7 separate regions of the Homo sapiens genome follow, and all the other regions are linked to region 2. The links are contacts of gene promoters, found by promoter capture Hi-C in blood cells and fetal thymus (Javierre and others, 2016). All regions are on one chromosome and are shown on one strand. Each heading gives the region's core, a stretch centred on a gene start or on the middle of the fragment in contact. The rest is flanking DNA. Distances are from core to core; before and after follow the strand shown.

The links. The method cuts DNA at HindIII sites, captures the fragments that hold promoters and counts their contacts. A CHiCAGO score of 5 or more calls a contact.
Region 1: a contact is called between a fragment that was not itself captured here and the fragment with the promoter of SCGB1A1 in region 2, in 1 of 17 cell types (monocytes). The highest score is 5.1, in monocytes.
Region 3: a contact is called between a fragment that was not itself captured here and the fragment with the promoter of SCGB1A1 in region 2, in 5 of 17 cell types (total CD4 T cells, total B cells, naive B cells and 2 more). The highest score is 7.4, in total CD4 T cells.
Region 4: a fragment that was not itself captured here is called in contact with the fragment with the promoter of SCGB1A1 in region 2 in 13 of 17 cell types (naive B cells, total B cells, naive CD8 T cells and 10 more); the score reaches 10.1 in naive B cells.
Region 5: a fragment that was not itself captured here is called in contact with the fragment with the promoter of SCGB1A1 in region 2 in 2 of 17 cell types (naive B cells and naive CD8 T cells); the score reaches 6.0 in naive B cells.
Region 6: a contact is called between the fragment with the promoter of ZBTB3 here and the fragment with the promoter of SCGB1A1 in region 2, in 1 of 17 cell types (monocytes). The highest score is 6.0, in monocytes.
Region 7: the fragment with the promoter of TMEM179B here is called in contact with the fragment with the promoter of SCGB1A1 in region 2 in 17 of 17 cell types (total B cells, erythroblasts, total CD8 T cells and 14 more); the score reaches 24.2 in total B cells.

Annotation. Positions count from the first base shown.
Region 1 is chr11:62,713,962-62,716,713 of GRCh38, forward strand. HNRNPUL2 (heterogeneous nuclear ribonucleoprotein U like 2) reads right to left here. Exons shown (of 14, transcript NM_001079559.3): 12 at 1,903-1,976; 13 at 1,539-1,646; 14 at 1-1,418. The coding sequence ends at 1,338. It overlaps HNRNPUL2-BSCL2 (HNRNPUL2-BSCL2 readthrough (NMD candidate)), which reads right to left. Exons shown (of 24, transcript NR_037946.1): 12 at 1,903-1,976; 13 at 1,539-1,646. Among named protein-coding and RNA genes, the nearest start is that of GNG3, 7.7 kb to the left of the region's middle. RefSeq lists an enhancer at 1,462-1,963. The HindIII fragment of the contact is 3,689 bases long and covers 1-2,752 here.
Region 2 is chr11:62,417,424-62,420,340 of GRCh38, forward strand. SCGB1A1 (secretoglobin family 1A member 1) reads left to right here and starts at 1,610. Exons shown (of 3, transcript NM_003357.5): 1 at 1,610-1,727. The coding sequence starts at 1,673. All of the region lies in intron 1 of LOC102723765 (a long non-coding RNA gene), which reads right to left. RefSeq lists a silencer at 634-928. The HindIII fragment of the contact is 29,364 bases long and covers 1-2,559 here.
Region 3 is chr11:62,878,185-62,880,884 of GRCh38, forward strand. It overlaps a transcript of SLC3A2 not described here. Among named protein-coding and RNA genes, the nearest start is that of SLC3A2, 1.4 kb to the right of the region's middle. RefSeq lists enhancers at 2,034-2,083, 2,453-2,700. The HindIII fragment of the contact is 6,323 bases long and covers 1-2,700 here.
Region 4 is chr11:62,859,524-62,862,381 of GRCh38, forward strand. It overlaps a transcript of SLC3A2 not described here. Among named protein-coding and RNA genes, the nearest start is that of SNHG1, 5.1 kb to the left of the region's middle. RefSeq lists enhancers at 1-342, 1,511-2,415. The HindIII fragment of the contact is 5,884 bases long and covers 1-2,858 here.
Region 5 is chr11:62,899,222-62,901,921 of GRCh38, forward strand. No RefSeq gene overlaps it. Among named protein-coding and RNA genes, the nearest start is that of CHRM1-AS1, 8.8 kb to the right of the region's middle. The HindIII fragment of the contact is 2,810 bases long and covers 25-2,700 here.
Region 6 is chr11:62,752,796-62,755,495 of GRCh38, forward strand. It overlaps ZBTB3 (zinc finger and BTB domain containing 3), which reads right to left and starts at 1,365. Exons shown (of 2, transcript NM_001370809.1): 1 at 1,169-1,365; 2 at 1-920. The coding sequence starts at 869. RefSeq lists enhancers at 18-895, 1,776-2,653. The HindIII fragment of the contact is 6,803 bases long and covers 1-2,700 here.
Region 7 is chr11:62,786,013-62,788,928 of GRCh38, forward strand. It overlaps TMEM179B (transmembrane protein 179B), which reads left to right and starts at 1,390. Exons shown (of 5, transcript NM_199337.3): 1 at 1,390-1,515. The coding sequence starts at 1,420. TAF6L (TATA-box binding protein associated factor 6 like) reads left to right here. Exons shown (of 11, transcript NM_006473.4): 10 at 248-376; 11 at 505-1,330. The coding sequence ends at 1,284. It also overlaps a transcript of TMEM223 not described here. RefSeq lists an enhancer at 461-660 and a silencer at 911-1,020. The HindIII fragment of the contact is 7,473 bases long and covers 1-2,916 here.

The DNA.
Region 1 (2,752 bases), core at 19-2,518, 300 kb after region 2:
TATCCCAACTGAAGGCTCCTGGCTAGAGGCCTCTCTGGGGACACACAGGGAAAGCGCCCCAAAAGGAATTTTGTTTCTAGAAGTCGGGAAGGGGTGCTCCCTTTCACACGCACATTTACACACGTTCACACTCACACTCTTCCCAAGGTTCAGCAGCCCCACTGAGCTGCCTCCCACCCCCCCCCACCACCCTCCCCTCTTCTATTCATTCTCTACCTGTGTATCAAAAAAACCAGCAGGGCACGAGCCCTCCACACTGTAGAAAATAGTTGCTAGTTGCTATTCTCAGCACCTGGGCCTGTGAGCCCACACCACAGGATTCACCTATATACATATCCCGCTGCAGTGAAAAGAATCCTGCTGTGTTTTCGTGTGAGCTGAAACCCTGAGAAACGTTCCTTCTCTCGCACTGTAAGAGGACAGACACTCTAACAGGGATGATTTCAGAGACCTCCCACCTCTCTCAACCTTGGAAGACAGAGACTAGAGACTGGCAAATCACAATCTTTAGGCTGAGGGCTGCAATCCCATTCTCCCCAAGATTTTACAGGAATTAATCAATGGGTCTATAGAAGGGGCAGGCTATTCTGCTCTGCCATCAAGGACAGTCCCCAGGCTTTCTTGGCCTGGGAATCCTGTAAAATAGAACCACCCACTGGCAGTCTCCATGCCTCAGCCAAACAGCACAAAGGCACAGGAAAATGGAGAGTTGGGACACTGTAAGCCTCCCAGCCCACCAGACCACATATCCCAAAAGGGAAAGGTCGGTAAAGAAAATACAAACGGTTAGTTGGTGCAAGTGATTGATAAGAGCCAATCGTTTATTTTCACTGTCCCAGTCACAAGCTCTCCCTCTGTCCCCACTCCTGCCTGCTCCTACCTGCTGTGGAGAGCACCCTCGCGCTGCCTCCCCACCCTCCCCACACCACCTCATCACTCTCCTTTACTTGGCTGCCAGTCCAGCTGCCTCAGAATGTCAGAAGGGTGCCATTTTCAGTTCTTTTCCTGTCTGACTGTAGGGTATAGAACAGGCAGCCCTAAGTGCTGCTTTCTGCGCAAATGTTTTTTGATTACAAATCTCTAACTAGGTTTGAAATGTTTTATAGAATAAGACAATATTCTTTTCAACAAACTTTAAAAAAAATGTACAGTTTTGTTGTTTGTTTCCACCTCCCCCCTCCCCCACCCCTGCTTGAGCACCCTCCCCCCCCACCACCCCTCCCCGGCAGCTCAGCCCCACCCCGACAGCCCCTGTTTTCCTTGGTTGTGTTTTGCGGGGGTGCCTGGCACCCCCAGAGATTCAGCTTCATGGCTGACAGGTGACCATGGCAGGGGCTTCACCGATACCCTTGGTACCCGTAGTAATTCCTGTAGTATCGGTCTCTGTCCTGGGGGTGGTGGTAGTAGTAACTCTGCCACTAGAAGAGAGGGAAACCCCATCACTTGGAGCCAGAGCTGGCTGAGGATGAAGAGGCATAACACTCATCCTTCTGCTCCTGCCCCCCTTCACCCTGTGTCTATCCCAAGAAGATACTCACATCCCGATTGTATTGTCTGTAATAGTCTCTGTATCTGTTGTACTCATAATCTCGCCCGTAAAATCGATCATAGTCTCCCCTGTATCGATCATAGAAATTACGGTAACCCTGAGAAAGGAAAAGAAAAAGGAGTGAAGGTTTATGGGTTTTTGGCAGCATGACCCACCGTGACCCCCTTTTAAATGCGACACATCTTAGCTCGATATTATAAATTGGTTTAATTTTCCCATAGTAAATCTTCCAGAACATATTAAATGGGCAAAACCCTAAGCCCTAAGAAAACAGGCAAACCACTCTGCTCCCCCAAGCCAACAGAATGGCTCTCACAGCCCAGAGTGAGGAGCAGAAGGAGAGCTGCACTCACCCCTCTGTTTCCAGGCTGCCCCCAGTACTGCTGCCCGTAGGCCCGGTTGTCGTAGCCTCGGCGCTGCCCGCCCACTGGAAGAGAAATGGAGAGCGCGCTCAGACAGCTGGCATGGGGTCCTGGCTCCACATCTGGGTGGAAATCAAAAACTTGGAGCCAAAGGCAATTCTGGGGGAATATGAGGCCTGCTTCGGCCAGGCTCACACATGTTAATTAAAGCACCAGCCAGGAACTTTTAAAAAGTCTGAGGGGGGAGGGCAGAGGAACAGAGACACAAGAAAACCAAGCCACTTTGTTTTTGAAGCTCCCCAATTCCTGCAAAACATTTAAGATGGCAAAAGGATACATGGCAGAGTTAGAAACATAAGGAAAAACTGCCATTCATAGAATCAGACTTTCAGCCCTGGAAGGGATTTCAGATATCGTATAACCCATACCTATCATTTTATGCAAAAGAAACAAAGTCTCTGTAATCAGCTCCTCAAGGGCGGGAACTGTCAGCATTTACAGTACCTAGCACATAGCAGGCACTCGGAAATTCTGCTGACTTAACAGTTACACACACACATACACACACATTTTTAAAGAGCAGTGAATGCACACTGGGGTTTTAACTGACAAACTAGACATTCAGGGGGAAAATTAATTCTACTAATAGCCTAACTTGCTTGGTTAAGTTCTTCCCCCCACAAAAAACACTGAATAAAGCATTCGCTTTCTTGTTAATCGAAATGACACAGAAGCAAGAAAACTGAAGATGAGAATTTGATTTCACTGCACAAATCCTTCAGATAAGACAGGAACAGTGACACTGGGAACCCATATGTTAAAATGAAAACTAGATAGATGA
Region 2 (2,917 bases), core at 360-2,859:
ATCCAGCTAATTTTTGTATTTTTAGTAGAGACGGGGTTTCATCATGTCAGCCAGGCTGGTCTCAAACTCCTGACCTTAGGTGATCCACCTGCCTCAGCCTCCCAAAGTCCTGGGATTACAGGCATGAGCCACCCTGTCTGGCCTTTTATTTGTTTATTTATTTTTATTTATTTATTTATTTTTGAGGAGTTCTTGAAGTGCCACGCAATGCCTCTCCATGTCTATCTACCCCAGTTCCCGACTCCTAGCACCACATCTGGCACATCATAGGTGGTCAGCATTTATTGGATGAATGAATGGATCAATATTTGATTGAGTCTTGAAGTACGAATAGAATTTGGCGAAGTGGACAAGGCAGGAAATGTGTATTCAGGCATGAGGCTTAGCTTGTGCATAGGTAGAAAGGCATGAAAAAACATGGAACATTCTCGAATCCACAAATAGTAAGAGAGGGCTAAGTCGTTGTGTGGGGGAGAGGAGAAATGAAGTTCAAATGGTAGGCAAAGGTCAGTGGGCAAGGGCCTTGTAAATTGCACTTGAATTTTATTCTTTAGGCAAAAGGAAGAGTTTAAGGGTTTCAAGAAGAAGGACACGACCAGTGGGTTTTAGGAAGATCATTCTGATGGCCTTTCAGAGGATGGCTGAGGAGAGCTAGCAGGGAGGCAGGGAGGTCGAGTCAGGGGATTTTGACCAGGCCAGGTTAGGTGCTATGAGGCCCGGGCTTTGGAGAAGAACCAGGAAATGGCAACTGGAGGCAAGAAAGGGGAGAAGGCCAAAGCCTGGGAACCATCAACACTTAAGAACAGTAAAGAATAAACATCTAAAGAGAACAAGAAGGAATGGCCAGAAGAAGGAAAACAGGAAAGAACTGAGGCGTGGGAGCGCAAGAGAGAGAATGGTTCGAGAAGGAAGCAGTCACAGGTGTCAAGGCCATTGGGAGGTCAAGTGAGATAAGGACTGAAGGTCCCACCAATTGGGCCATCAGGAGCACAGGACTTGAGAGCACTTCTGGGTGGGAACAGACCCAGCCTGGGGCAGGGCTCAGGTTTCTGATGGGAATTCTGGAAGGGTCCCTTTTATTCAACATGCTTCAATCCAGGGGCCCCCGAAGTCTGACCACAGCAATGCTCCAAACCATGTGTCTTTCCTGGCTTAAGGTTCAGTCGCCCTCCTCAGAGGGGAGCCTATGAAAGAGCCCAGTGGAGTGTCAGGGTCCTGAGTCCTAGTCCTAGTCCTGTCCCTGCCACTTGTGAGGGAACTTGGGCCTCAGTTTCTCCAGGTGGGCTCCACAATTGCTTCTCTTGATCTGGACTGCCCCAGTGCCCAGGTTCAGTGAGTGACACAGGCAGCTGGGTTTCCACATCCTCTGACTTGGGTTCCCTTCACTGCCTCCAGGCAGGGCTCGGCCCTCCACCCCCAAGTGGCCCATTGTGTGAGCTCAGTTTCAGTGGGGACAGAAACTGGGTTGAGAAAAGGGAATATTTACCTATCCCACCAAGCCAATGCCAAGTAAATAGTGCAGTATCTTATGTAGAGCCCTTGCCCTGCCCTTCCCCATCTGGGTGCTGCTGCCTAGAGCATATAAAAGGCACCTTGCTGGGCATGTCTCATACTAGCCCACCAGACTCAGAGACGGAACCAGAGACGGGCCAGAGCATCCCCCTCCTCCACCATGAAACTCGCTGTCACCCTCACCCTGGTCACACTGGCTCTCTGCTGCAGCTCCGGTGAGTGCTCAGAGACCCTTCCCTCCCTCCTGGACTTAGGAACTCTCAGGACCCCCCAGTTCTGCTCAGAAGAAGGAGTGAGCTGCCCATTCCTGCTCTGGAGCTGCTGGGAGGACCTGGGCATGCTGAGTCTCAGAAAACTGGGTCTGGTGAGCAAGCTCATCTTGGAAACTTGGAGAGAGCCCCAGGCTGTAAGGAAGCCTAAAAAGGGTCCCATCTTCTATATCCAACAACCCTCAGAATCCCAGGGAATGGAATAGCCTGGAGGGAGGAGTGGAGAATACCCCATAAAGATGAGTACATCCAGCATAGGAATAATGAGGCCCTCATCCCAGATCTGGACAGACTCCAAGATGCTGAGACCTTGGTGCAGCCTCCAAGTCTGGGGTCTCCACTCCATGCTGGCAGCTGAAGTCACTGGAAGGGGAGCTGCAGGGACTCGTGACCCCAAAAGAAACCCAACCCAAGACAAGGTCTCTCATTCTGGGCACAGAGGAATATTCCAGAAAGAGAGCTTCCCTTTGGGGAACTGCCAACCCAGAGTGAAGTTTTCTAAACATTTCCGTCCTCTGCAAAAGGGATTAGGAGTCTCTGAGTAGTTGCTGCTGTCACTAAAAGGAAAAGAACTGTGGGGGGAAGAGGGGCAGAAAGAGAGACGGAGAGAGGGGGAGAAAGGAAGGAAAGAAGGATCACAGCTCTCTCCAAGATCCCCCGTCTTTGGGGAACTGGGTTATCTAACTCTGTTTTTCACTCTGCGTCAGCCTCTTCCATTCTCATCTGAAAATGCTGTTGTTATTTTTTAATAAACAAACTCCAATTAATTCACTTGGAAAGCTTCACAACACCCATGGAGATAAGTTTTATGACCCTGGGGAGTTAGAAAACCCAAACCAAGAAGCAGTAGGAACAACTATTTTGCAGAGAGGTTTATTTGTTTTTCAGAGAAAATGACATCATTTTGGACTGAAATGTGTATTAATTAGAAGATCTCAGTGCTGTCTGCGTACAGAGGTGGGTGGCTGAGCAAGATAGGACTGCAACATGTTAAGGGGTGGGTCAGAGATGCATTTGTCTATTTGTGTGCACATGCATACAATATTTAACACTTACTTCACACAATGTGCCAATCACTGTCACCCTTTCACATAATATCTCTTTTCATTCTTTTTTTTTTTTTTTTTTGAGACAGA
Region 3 (2,700 bases), core at 198-2,697, 460 kb after region 2:
GAATTGACTTCAGCCATTTGGAGCCATGAGGATCTGTGAGTGAGATACTGTGTCATGTTGGACCATCTCAAAGACAGCTTCTGACCCCACAGTTCTCAACCTTGTTCTTACTTATTTTTAGAGACAGGGTCTCGCTCTGTCTCCTAGGCTGGTATGCAGTGGTGCCACCATGGCTCACTGCAGCCTCACAAACTCCTGGACTCAAGTGATCCTCCTGCTTTTGCTTCCCTTGAGTGTTGGCATCTCATGGGACTCCAGGGGCACATCACCAATTACAGATGATAATTTTTTTTTTTTTTGAGACGGAGTCTTGCTCTGTATCCCAGGCTGGAGTGCAGTGGCGCGATTTTGGCTCACTGCAAGCTCCGCCTCCCAGGTTCACGTCATTCTCCTGCCTCAGCCTCCTAAGTAGCTGGGACTACAGGCACCCGCCACCACGCCTGGCTGATTTTTTTTTTTTTTTTTTGCATTTTTAGTAGAGACGGGGTTTCACTGTGTTAGCCAGGATGGTCTCGGTCTCCTGACCTCTTGATCCACCTGCCTCGGCCTCCCAAAGTGCTGGTATTACAGGTGTGAGACACCACGCCTGGCCTTTTTTTTTCTTTTTTGAGACAGAGTCTCACTCTGTCACCCAGGCTGGAGTGCAGCCGCGCAATCTTGGCTCACTGCAACCTCTGCCTCTCGGGTTCAAGCGATTCTCATGCCTCACCCCTCCAAGTCTGGGACTACAGGCGTGTGCTACTATGTCCAGTTAATTTTTGTATTTTTAGTAGAGATGGGGTTTCACCATGTTGGCCAGGCTGGTCACGAACTCCTGACCTCAAGTTATCCGCCACCCTCAGCCTCCCAAAGTGCTGGGATTACAGGTGTCAGCCACCACACCTGGCCTGTTAGTTTTTTTGAGGCAGAGTCTTGCTCTATCACCCAGACTGGAGTGCAGTGGCCCATTCTTGGCTCACTGCAACCTCTACCTCCTGGGTTCAAGCGATTCTCATGCCACAGCATGAGAAGTGGGATTACAGGGATTAGTAGGTGGGATTACAGGTGTGAGCCACCACACCCAGCCAGGCCCAGATAATTTTAAAATTTATTTTTTTATTTATTTAGAAATGGAGTCTCACTATGTTGCCCCGTCTGGTCTTAAACTCCTGGCCTCAAGGAATCCTCCCTCCTTGGCCTCCTAAAGGGCTAGGTGACAGGCATGAGTCACACTGCGCCCAGCCTTGAGCTTTTGTGCTCGAGATATAGTCCATTCAGAACCTCTGGTTGGCACTTCTTATCTGGCACATGCAGGGCACCTTGGATCTCTTATTATCTTTGAGCACTGGTCTGAACCCACTTGCTTGCCTTCTCCCAGGGGCTGCCCCGTGCACCCCTTGTTCCTAGGGTGGGGATGGGGTTGGATGCCTGGGGTTGCAGAGGGGACTAGCAGAGGGTGACCCTTTTCTCTATGCTATTACTTCAGATCTTGGCTTTTGCTTTCTTCCAAATACACAGCAATCTTGGCTTCCAGCCTAGGTGGGAAAGGGAGAAAGAACCGATTTCCTCCAGCTCCTCTCTGAAAGTAGCCCAACTGGCACTGTTTAGGAACAAGGAGTTCCTGAGAGTGTTGGCACCCCACGGTGTTGATGTCCGGTAGTTCCCTGCTGTGAACCCTGTCTCTGCCCCACTTCAATCCAAGGACCCTGTGGAGGGAATTCTAGGCTTCTTCAAAGCCTCTGCAGTACCAGCTGCCTCCAAGGCCTAACATAGTGAAGTGATAGGGAGACAGGACCTTGGGGGAGTTTGGGGATAACTGTGGGAGTTCCTGCAAGGTGGGTAAGAGTCTGGCCATGGCATCTTCTGGTCTATTCCACAAAAAAGGTGGATGCCTCTGAGACCTAGCTCTGTTATGTTCATTACAGCCCTATCAGTCTCTTCTGGATGTCTGATTCCTAGCTGCCAAACATCCAGGTGCTAGCAGCTGGGGGTGGGGTAGGATAAGAAGGGGGGTGTCTACCTCAACCTTCCTGCCCAAACCATTCATTTTAAAGTACTGTGAAGAAGGCTGGATTAGTGTTAAATTCAATAAAGTTAACAAAGCAAAGTATTGTAGTGAGTACACAATAAATAGTTGCTGCATGAGGAATTTCTTGAAATGAATTCAAGATGAGTCTTGAAAAACGAGTGGGAGTAAGCCGTGCACGGAAGCAGAGGTCTAGCAGAGGTCTAGCGCCAAGTCCCAGAGGCCTGAGAGGGCAAGCCTTGGTGGGGGAAAAGGCAGAAGTTGTGACTGGCTGCCTCTGAGAGTGCAAGTAGCCATGCAAAGTTGGGAAAACCAGACGGCGGCCGGAGCCGTGAACCAGGGGCAAATGGAGGATGGTGTTGGGGTAGTCACTAGCCTGCCGGAATGGAAGAAGAGGGGCGTTTGGGGGCGGTAAGGCCTAAAGGACACTGGAGGGGCCTCGGGATTTGGGGCAGGATCACAGGCCTAGTCCACTTAAAGGTGGCTCCGTGCCAGGCCTTCCCAGAATCAGGTTGAAAAGAACTTTAGGGTTAGACAGGTTGGAGATGAGAAATTGGACCATGCAGGAAGTACTGTCGGAGGCGTGTTCCTGACTTTACTACCCTGAGCCGCCCACGGCTGGGGCAGTCCCCGAGGTTCCACCTTAAGGGGCGGGCCGGGGCGGGGCTCCGCTGCCCCTTCCCAGAGGCCGCGCC
Region 4 (2,858 bases), core at 60-2,559, 440 kb after region 2:
ATTCAAAAATAAGCCGGGCGTGGTGTGGGTGCGGTGGCAGGCGATTGTAATCCTAGCTACTTAGGAGGCTGAGGCAGGAGAAGTGGTTGAACCCGGGAGGTGGAAGTTGCAGTGAGCCAAGATCACCCCACTGCACTCCAGCCTGGGGGACAAGAGTGAGTCTCAAAAACAAACAAAAAACCAAAATATGCCCGTGGGCCAAAGGTGGCCTTTGATTGTGAGTTTGCAACCTCTTGTGAGTGACATAGAATCTACTAGAAAAGAGGGCATTTTAAAAAAAGTAGGCTGGGTGGAGCGGCTCACGCCTGTAATCCTGAAGGGGGCCAGCCCCTCCACACCTGTGGGTATTTCTCGTCAGGTGGGACGAGAGACTGAGAAAAGAAATAAGACACAGAGACAAAGTATAGAGGAAGAAAAGTGGACCCGGGGACTGGCGCTCAGCATACGGAGGACCCGCACCAGCACTGGTCTCTGAGTTCCCTCAGTATTTATTGATCACTATCTCTACCATCTCAGCCAGAGGGATGTGGCAGGACTATAGGGTAATGGTGGGGAGAGGGTCAGCAGGAAAACATGTGAGCAAAGGACTCTGTGTCATAAATAAGTTTAAGGAAAGGTGCTGTGCCTTGATGTGCACGTAGGCCACATTTATGATTGACTTTACACAAACATCTCAGCGCAGTAAAGAGCAGTATTGGCCGGGCGCGGTGGCTCACGCCTGTAATCCCAGCACTTTGGGAGGCTGAGGTGGGTGGATCACGAGGTCAGGAGTTCGAGACCATCCTGGTTAACATGGTGAAACCCCGTCTCTACTAAAAATACAAAAAAAAAATTAGCCGGGTGTGATGGCGTGCGCCTGTAGTCCCAGCTACTTGGGAGGCTGAGGCAGGAGAATGGTGTGAAACCTGGGCGACAAGGCGAGACTCTGTCTCAAAAAAAAAAAAAAAGCAGTATTGCCGCCAGCATGTCTAACCTCCAGCCATAAGGCGGTTTTCTCCTATCTCAGTAAATAGAATGTACAATCGGGTTTTATACAGAGATATTCCATTCCCAGGGACTAGCAGGAGACAGATGCCTTCCTCTTATCTCAACTGCAAAGAGGCCTTCCTCTTTCACTAATCCTTCTCAGCACAGACCCTTTATGGGTGTCTGGGGGACGGTCAGGTCTTTCCATTCCCATGAGGCCATATCTCAGGCTGTCTCAGTGGAGAGAAACCTTGGACGATACCCAGGCTTTCTTGGGCAGAGGTCCCTGCGGCCTTCCGCAGTGCACTGTGTCCCTGGGTACTCGAGACTGGAGAATGGCGATGACTTTTACCAAGCATACTGCCTGCAAACACATTTTTAACAAAGCACATCCTGCACAGCCCTAAATCCATTAAACCTTGAGTCAATACAGTGCATGTTTCTGCGAGCACAGGGTTGGGGCTAGGGTTACAGATTAACGGTGTTTCAAGGCAGAATAATTTTTCTTAGTACAGATCAAAATGGAGTTTCTTATGTCTTCCTTTTTCCACATAGACACAGTAACAGTGTGATCTCTCTTTCTTTCCCCCACATAATCCCAGCACTTTGGGAGGCCAAGGCAAGCAGACTACTTGAGCCCAGGAGTTTGAGACCAGCCTGGGCAACATATGGAGCCCGTCTCTACAAAAATAAAAATTAGCTGCGTGTGGTGGTGCATGTGTATAGTCCCAGTTCTGGGGGAGGCTGAGGTGGGGAGGATTGCTTGAGCCCAGGAGTTCAAGGCTGCAGTGAGCTTTAATTGTGCAACAAATAGAGGCCCTGTCTCAAAAAAAAAAGAGGGTTTCACTCTTGGTCACTGTAACCTCAAACTCCTGCACACAAGCAATCCTCTGGGCTGAGCTGGGACTACAGGCATGGGCCACCGTGCCCAGCTAATCTATTTTGCTTTTTGAATAGACAGAGGTCTTGCTGTGTTGCCCAGGCTGGTCTCAAACTCCTGGGCTCAAGTGATTCTCCAGCCTTGGCCTCCCAAAGCAATCCCTAGGTAACAGACTCAGTCTGGCTTCCTGGCTCTGGCTTCTTCCCTTCTAGTTCATTCTCCACACTGTAGTCAGAGTGATCTTTACGAATAAAAACTCTGGTCGGTCGGGCACAGTGGCTCATGCCTGTAATTCCAGCACGTTGGGAGGCCTAGGCGTGTGGATCACTTGAGGTTGGGAGTTCGAGACCAGCCTGACCAACATGGAGAAACCCCATCTCTACTAAAAATACAAAATCAGCCAGGCGTGGTGGCATATGCCTGTAATTCGAGCTACTCAGGAGGCTGAGGCAGGAGAGTCGCTTGAGAAAGGCGGAGGATGCGGTGAGCTGAGATCGTGCCACTGCACTCCAGCCTGGCCAACAAGAGCAAAACCTCTCTCAAAAAAAAAAAAAAAAAAAAAAAGTCTGGTCAGGTCCCACTTCAGCTCACAATCAGTTCAGTGCCTCTCCATTGTCTTTAAGCTATAGCCCAAATTGATCAATACAGCCATTAAGAAGTGCTGCTAGGCCAGGCGCGGTGGCTTACCTGTAATCCCAGCACTTTGGGAGGCCAAGGCAGGCGGATTACCTGAGGTCAGGAGTTCAAGACCAGCCTGGGCAACATGGTGAAATCCCGTCTCTACTAAAAATACAAAAATTAGCTGGACATGTTGGAGTGTGCCTGTAATCCCAGCTACTCGGGAGGCTGAGGCATAAGAATTGCTTGAACCTGGGAGGTGGAGGCAACGATGAGCTCATCGCAACGATGAGCTGAGATCACGCCATTGCACTCCAGCCTGGGCGACAGAGTGAGACTCTGTCTCAAAAAAAAAAAAAAAAAAAAAAAAGCCCTGCTTCTAACAGGGCCAATG
Region 5 (2,700 bases), core at 180-2,679, 480 kb after region 2:
GAAAGTAACCTTTAACTTTTAAAAAGCTTGTGATTCTGATTGCTTGTCTTCCTTAATAGTGTGTTGCCCTGGCAATAATATTTAAATTCACATCTGTGTTTTCTAGAAGGTATAAATACCTGTGAGTTTTCTTTGTTAAGCCAGAGGGGGAGCATTGACACATTCCTCTTCTCCCACGCGCATGAAGTAGAATAAACCCAGTGACTGCAAGATTTCTTAATCAAACAAAGAATTTGAGAATATTGTCTCATTTAAATCAACATGGAGACCAGGGGTGGTGGCTCACGCCTATAATCCCAGCATTTTGGGAGGCTGAGGTAGGAGGATTGTTTGAGCCCAGGAGCTTGAGACGAGCTTGGGCAACACAGTGACACTCTTTGTCTCTACAAAATAAAAAAAATTAGCTGGGTGTGGTGGTGTGCTCCTGTAGTCCTATCTACTTGGGAGGCTGAGGTGGGAGGATCCCTTGAGCCCAGTAATGTGAGGTCGCAGTGAGCCACTCCAGCCTGGGTGACAGAGTGAGACCCCCCAGCTCTTTTCTCTCTCTCTCTTTTTTTTTTTTTTTTTTTGAGACGGAGTCTTGCTCTGTCACCCAGGCTGGAGTGCAATGGTGCCATCTCGGCTCACTGCACCCTCTGCCTCCTGGGTTCAAACAATTCTCCTGCCTCAGCCTCCCGAGTACCTGGGACTACAGCTGCCCGCCACCATGGCTGGCTAATTTTTGTATTTTTAGTAGAGACGGGTTTTCACCATGTTAGCCAGGCTGATCTTGAACTCCTGACCTCAGGTTATCCACGTGCCTTGGCCTCCCAAAGTGTTGCAGTTACAGGTGTGAGCCACCACACCCGGCCCCCCAACTCTTAAAAAAAAAATCATGCAGGCAGCAAGTCAGAGGTAGCGGCCATGAAGAGAGGTGGAAGTTGAGAACAAGCACTTTTGGGAATAAGGCAAGTGAGTTGACTAAGGACAAGCACAAAGATGTGAGGTGGAGCCATGAGGCTCCTGAGCAGAGGTCAGGAACCCTACATTTGTTCTGGTGCCAATCTGCCAGAGAGTGGGAGCTTTTTCCAGCAGTGCCTGACTGCCCATGTGTCGGGTCAGAGAAGATGGATGGTAGCATTGACCCAGGGTGGTGAATTTGTGGTAGAAGCAAGGGGTCGGGGGATCATGAGTATTGGTGGTGCTGAGGAAAGACTGCAGGGTCCAGGCTGCTCAGGGAAAGAAAGCACTTGCTGAGGATGGGCAAGGACAGGGCCTGGAGGAAGATGAGAGGCTGAGGGGGTGGGAGAGTGAGAGTGGAAGACATTGGGGTTTTAGCTCTTGAAGCGGGAGCAGTTGAGGGCTCTGGATTTGGCTGACACAGGGTAGAGGGTAAGGTCCTTGGGGCTGAAGACATCATGACACTGGCACTATTGAGTTGAATGGGTCACCCAGCCAGGATGGTGGCCAGATTTAAGAGGAGGAGGCTGGGCGCAGTGACTTATGCCTGTAATCCCAGGAGTGAGATTTTGGGAGGCCGAGGTGGGAGGATCACAAGGTCAGGAGTTTGAGACCAGCCTGGCCAATATGGTGAAACCCCGTCTCTACTAAAAATACAAAAATTAGCCAGGTGTGGTGGCGCGTGCCTGTAGTGCCAGCTACTTGGGAAGCTGAAGCAGGAGAATTGCTTGAACTTGGGAGCCGAGACTGCACCACTGCACTCCAGCATGGGCGACAAGAGCAAAACTCCGTCTAAAAAAAAAAAAAAGAGGAGGAAAGCATGGGCTTTGAGATCATTTGGGGGTGGAATCCTTGCTCTATCCCTGCTTGAACCTCTTAACCTCAGTTTCCTTCTCCGTGAGATAGGGCCAATAACATCCATCTTGAGGGAGTCTCAAGACTCAGAGTTTGTCTGTATGTTAGAGGGATAAGAATGCTAGGCCAGGTGCAGTGGCTTATGCCTGTAATCCCAGCACTTTGGGAGGCCAAGGCAGGTGGATCACAAGGTCACGAGATCGAGACCATCCTGGCTAACACGGTGAAACCCCGTCTCTACTAAAAATACCAAAAAATTAGCTGGGCGTGGTGGCGGGCACCTGTAGTCCCAGCTACTCGGGAGGCTGAGGCAGGAGAATGGCATGAACCCGGGAGGCGGAGCTTGCAGTGAGCCGAAATCATGCCACTGCACTGCACTCCAGCCTGGGTGACAGAGTGAGACTCTTTCTCAAAAAAAAAAAAAAAAAAAGAAGAATGCTAATAGAGTCAGAGAAGCAGATAGACTTCCTGTCTGGTTCTCAGGTGTCCAAGGCAGCAAAAATGTCATTTAGTAATCATTTATTGACCGGGCGCTGTGGCTCATGGCTATAATCCCGGCACTTCAGGAGGCCAAGGTGGGTGGATCACTTGAGATCAGGAGTTCGAGACCAGCCTTGCCAACATGGCAAAACCCTGTCTCTACTAAAAATACAAAAATTAGCTGGGCGTGGTGGTGCGCGCCTGTAATCCCAGCTACTCAGAAGGCTGAGGCTGGAGAATTGATTGCACCCAGGAGGTGTAGGTTGCAGTGAGCTGAAATGGCACTACTGCACTCCAACCTGGACGACAGAGTGAGACTTTGCCTCAAAAAAAAAAAAAAATTATTGCCTACTGTGTCACAGACAATATGCCAAGTGCTTACAGATGCTGAGAGGTCAGGGTCTGAAGTGTGCTGGCCAAGACTTG
Region 6 (2,700 bases), core at 115-2,614, 340 kb after region 2:
GGAACTGGAGCTGAGACAGGGGCTGGGGCTGACGTTGGGGCTGAGGCTGGGGGATAGAAGCCTTGCAGTGGTCCTCCAGGATCCTTTGGTTCCACCACCCTCAGACTCTCAGGACCCACATCAAGAGATGGCAGTGGCTCCAATGAAACTGCTGAGATGCCAGAAGAGAAGTAGTTTGTAGGAATGGTCTCAGTGGAGCTACTAGGGCTGGCAAGAGAGACATCAGCCACTGGTGGATGAGGTGCCCGCAGATGTGGTGCGTCAACCTCCATGCCAGGCTGTGTAGTGTCAGCCCCACTAGACATTGGTGGCTCATCTGGAGGACGGACAGTAGGTGAGGGAGCAGCAGAGCCTTTCCATTCCCCTTTGCCCCAGTGGCCTGATGTCTCAGCAGATGCCAACGAAGGTTGGGTGCCACGGGAAGTACTAGACAAAAACTCCAAACTAGGAAGCTGTGAGTTGGTTTCCTCCTCCTTCTTGGTACTGTCTGCCTCTGCCAGGGCCCGGGCTTGAAGCCGCCGCTTACACACCTTGACGATGTCATTCATGTGCAAGTAGCTGGCAGCTGCCAGCACATCCTCCACAGGGGTATCCCCTCTCAGGGTCAGCTGGCCAGCATACATAAAGTCCAGAAGCAGCCCAAAGGCTGGGGCTGTGACAATTTCATTGTGAATACACACCAGATCCCTCTTGTCCAATTCCCGCTCCTTGTAGAAAAGCTGGAAGAATGGGCTGCAGGAGGCCAGCACAGCCCGATGGGCCAAGAACTGGGTACTACCCACCATCACGGTGCAGTCACAAAGGAAACCCTGGGACCGCTGCTCCCGGAGGCTCTGCAGCAGCTGCTGACTGTGTTCTGGGAACTCCATAGTACCCCACGAAGGAAAGGGGGCCCAAAAAAGGTCCCCACCAGTGGCTCCCTGAGAAAAAAGGGCAGTGAGTTAAGACAGGTAACCTCCCCAGCAACCTTATCAGCCCTTAACTATCACTTGCCACTCCAAAACAATCGCTTAAGTTACTGCCCTTCTTTCTCCTAGGTCACACCCAAAGCTCTCCCATTAGCTCCGCCCACCTCGGCCTAACCTTAGAACAGGCCCCACCCCCGTCCGATAAGCCCTGCCCCCGGAAGTCCCGCCCCTTAGCCACCCTCCGCTTCCTTGATGCCCACCCGGTAGCGTCCAACGGCTCCACGAAGTAGAGATCTTTTTCGCTCCCAGGCCTTGCCAGGCGATGCCTCTACGCCCCACTTCGAGAACTCCCTAAGCATCTCCCTCACGCATTCCAGGGGCTAAGGACTACCAGGGTGGGAACTAGCGGAGAAAGCTGATACCTCACCCACCACCGAGCAGCCACAGGGCGAGCTCCGCCCCTTCCCACCTTCTCAGCTTTAATTGGCTTAAGATTGCCCTCCCCTGTCACGGATTGGTCCGCTCTCCACTAACCATCCTCCCTCTAACTGCCGTCTACAATTGGGTGCTCGCCGCCATCGCTTTTGCAGTCAGGCGTTGGATTGGGTGACGCTCCTGTCCTCAACTTTTCCTCTTCGTCCCGCCTTCCTTGCCTCCGAGCCCTCAGGATTGGCTGAGCTTCTCCTTCTACCTAATCCAGCAGGCAGGAGGTACCCGGCTCCGAGTCGCTGAACGCGGCGCTCTCCTGGCGAGGCTGGAGGTCGGGAACCCTGCAGTGTCGGACCCGAGCTGACAGCAAGCCACTCCCGCTACAGGCTGACAGGGAAAAAGAGAACCAACTAGGCCAGGCGCAGTGCTTCACGCCTGTAATCCCAGGACTCTGGGAGGCCGAGGAGGGCGGATCACTTGGGGTCAGGAGTTCGATACCAGCCTGGCCAACATGCTGAAACCCCGTCTCTACTAAAAATACAAAAATTAGCAGGTCTTGGGGGCGCGCGCCTGTAATCCCAGCTACTGGGGAGGCTGAAGCAGGAGAATCACTTGAACCCGGGAGGCGGAGGTTGCAGTGAGTCAAGATCGTGCCACTGCACTCCAGCCTGGGCGACAGAGTAAGACCCTATCCCCCCACCCCCCCAAAAAAAGAGAACCAACTGGTGACTGTGGGCAATAGCCCCACGTCCCTGAACTGCGTTTGTCTCTTGAAGGTCCCTTCCTCTCAAAAATTCTAAGATTTGCCGGGTTCGGTGGCTCACGCCTTTAATCCCAGCAGTTTGGGAGGCTGAGACGGGCAGATCACTTGAGGTCCGGAGTTCAAGAGCAGCCTGGCCAACATAGTGAAACCCCATCTCTACTAAAAATACAAAAATCAGCTGGGCATGGTGGCGCGTGCCTGAAATCCCAGCTTCTAGGGAGGCTGAGGCAGGAGAATCTCTTGAACCCAGGAGGCAGAGGTTGCAGTGAGCCAAGATAGCGCCACTGCACTCCAGCCTGGGAGACAGAGCAAAACTCCATCTAAAACAAACAAACAAAAAAACATTTTAAGATGCCCTACTGCTCCACTCCTCCAAGCTAAGTTTCCGGGGCTCCCGGCTCAGTGATGGCATGAAAGAACTAGCAGCTACAGGGATGATGTCGTGGTGTCCCTAGCCTGGACTCTACAGTCAATTTACAGTGAGAGGATAGAGTGTTCTTTGTTTCCAGAGCGTGCTGAGCAGGTGCTGGTAGGAAGGGTAAGAATGGGGTCAGGATCATAAAATGTCCCAGGACAGGAGAGAAGAAGCAAAAACCGTGT
Region 7 (2,916 bases), core at 140-2,639, 370 kb after region 2:
CACAGGGCAGTGATATTGGGTATATTTTTTATTGTCTCCCTTTGTACCTTATCTTTATTCCCAATGCCTAGCTTAGGTATACAGTAGGTTCCAAATAAATATATGGTTGAATATGCCAATCAGGGAATTTAGGAGGATTGAGCCCTGTCTAGGATCAGAGATAAAGGTAGGTCTTTCATGGGAAAGGGTCCTTGAGAGGGAATAAGTATCAAAGACATGCTAACTGTATTCCTTCTCTTCCTTCCAGGCAGTAGAACGAGTCCTGTACCCACACCTGTCCACCTACTGGACAAACTTGCAGGCTGTGCTGGATGATTATTCAGTATCTAATGCCCAGGTCAAAGCAGATGGACACAAAGTCTATGGAGCCATTCTGGTGAGTACCGTCCCCTTCCAGCCTCCCTTCCCTGCATGAGCTTAGCAGCCAAGCAGGCTTACTTTGGAATATTTGATGGGCCCAGGTTCCTCGAATTTTTTGCCTATCTTAGTCCTTGGCTCTTACAGGTGGCGGTAGAGCGACTGCTGAAGATGAAGGCCCAGGCAGCAGAGCCCAACAGGGGTGGCCCAGGTGGCAGGGGGTGCCGGCGCCTGGACGACCTGCCATGGGACAGCCTTCTCTTTCAAGAGTCGTCCTCCGGGGGCGGTGCAGAACCCAGCTTTGGGTCCGGCCTCCCGCTGCCGCCAGGGGGCGCGGGGCCGGAGGACCCTTCTCTTTCGGTGACCCTGGCCGACATCTACCGGGAGCTCTACGCCTTCTTCGGTGACAGCTTGGCCACACGCTTTGGCACCGGCCAGCCTGCACCCACGGCTCCGCGGCCGCCCGGGGACAAGAAGGAGCCGGCGGCAGCCCCGGACTCGGTGCGGAAGATGCCGCAGCTGACGGCAAGCGCCATAGTCAGCCCGCACGGCGACGAGAGCCCCCGGGGCAGCGGCGGAGGCGGCCCCGCGTCGGCCTCTGGGCCCGCCGCCTCTGAGAGCAGGCCCTTGCCGCGCGTGCATCGGGCGCGCGGGGCACCCCGGCAGCAGGGCCCCGGGACCGGCACCCGCGACGTTTTCCAGAAGAGCCGTTTCGCCCCGCGCGGCGCCCCGCACTTTCGTTTCATCATAGCCGGGCGGCAGGCTGGGAGGCGCTGCCGCGGGCGCCTTTTCCAGACTGCCTTCCCCGCGCCGTACGGGCCTAGCCCGGCCTCGCGCTACGTGCAGAAACTGCCCATGATCGGCCGTACCAGCCGCCCCGCCCGCCGGTGGGCGCTCTCGGACTACTCGCTGTACTTGCCGCTCTGAGTCAGTGGCCCCTTCGTTCCTTGTAAATAAATCCCGCCCCCGGAAATGACGTCTCCACCTTCGTGGGTCGCGCCGGATAAGGTGGGCTTTGGGCGGGGTGCTGCTGCAGCGGCGCTTCCTGGTGGTCAGGGCGCCATGGCGCTGTCCTGGCTGCAGCGCGTCGAGCTTGCGCTCTTTGCTGCCGCCTTCCTGTGCGGGGCCGTGGCGGCCGCGGCGATGACTCGGACCCAGGTGCGGCTGCGGGGCGGGGTCAGGTAGGCGGGGGAGCTGGCCGGTCTGGACATGGCGAGGCCACTTTCGCTTTCCGACCGGGCTTGCTGCTGCTCGGAGCCGGTGGACCTGGTGAGGCACGGCTGGCGCCGGCCTGTACCTGAAATGCAGCGAGGCTAATCGCGCTTTGTGGCTCCTCCTGGCCAGGTCATACTTCGAAGTTGTCCCCTCGCCAAAGGGACGGGTCAGTAGCGTCTTAAAGCACTAGGTGGAGTCGGGTTTCGTGGCTCCTGCTGCACAGCCTTACTGTGGTTCCGAAACAGAAGTCAGTGCAGAACCTGCGTCCATCCGTTAAATCAGAAGCCATTTGTGCTGAGCTTTGTCGAGAAATAAAGCATAGTGTAGTGGAGATGATCAAGCTGCCACATGATTGTAGCACAGTGTGTTAAATGACAAAATGAGAGATGGAGAAAACGCTGACGTAAAGGTAGAAGCCAATAATTTACATCGTTTACCCCAGCCAGGTAATCTGGTTAATAAACATGGGTTCATTTAATGCCTATAAAGTAGGCACTAGTGTGCCTATTTTACACCATGAGAAAACCTCAGAGATCCGCCGGGCGCGGTGACTCACGCCTGTAATCCCAGCACTTTGGGAGGCTGAGGCAGGCGGATCACTTGAGGTCAGGAGTTCGAGACCAGCCTGGCCAACATGGCAAAACTCTGTCTCTACTAAAAATACAAAAATTAGCCGGGTGTGGTGGCTCATGCCTGTAATCCCAGCTACTTCGGAGGCTGAGGCAGGAGAATCGCTTGAACCTGGGAGGCGGAGGTTGCAGTGAGTCGAGATCGTGCCATTGCACTCCAGCCTGGGTGACGAGCGAATCTCCATCGCAAAAACAAAAACAAAAACACTGGCCGGGCCTGGTGGCTCACGCCTGTAATCCCAGCACTTTGGGAGGCCGTGGCAGGCGGATCACGAGGTCAGGAGATCAAGACCATCCTGGCCAACACGGTGAAACCCTGTCTCTACTAAAAATACAAACAATTAGCCAGGCATGGTGGCGGGTGCCTGTAGTCCCAGCTACTCAGGAGGCTGAGGCAGGAGAATGGCATGAACCCAGAAGGCAGAGCGTGCAGTGAGCCGAGATGGCGCCACTGCACTCCAGCAAAAAAAAAAAAAAAAAGCACCTCACAGATAGTTATTTGTTGAAGGATATACAAGGCCTGGGTTTACTCTAAGGTTTCTGCACAGAGACCATAACTTGTGAGGCTTCTCTGAAGCTCATTGCATTCTATATTCATTGCCTATTTTCTGATCCTTCTGGCCACTGCCGGTGTGATTCCCCAGCAGGCCCTCTCCATCAATATCCCTGTCCCAGAAATAGGAATTGACGGTGCACAAATAACTTCCTGGAATGC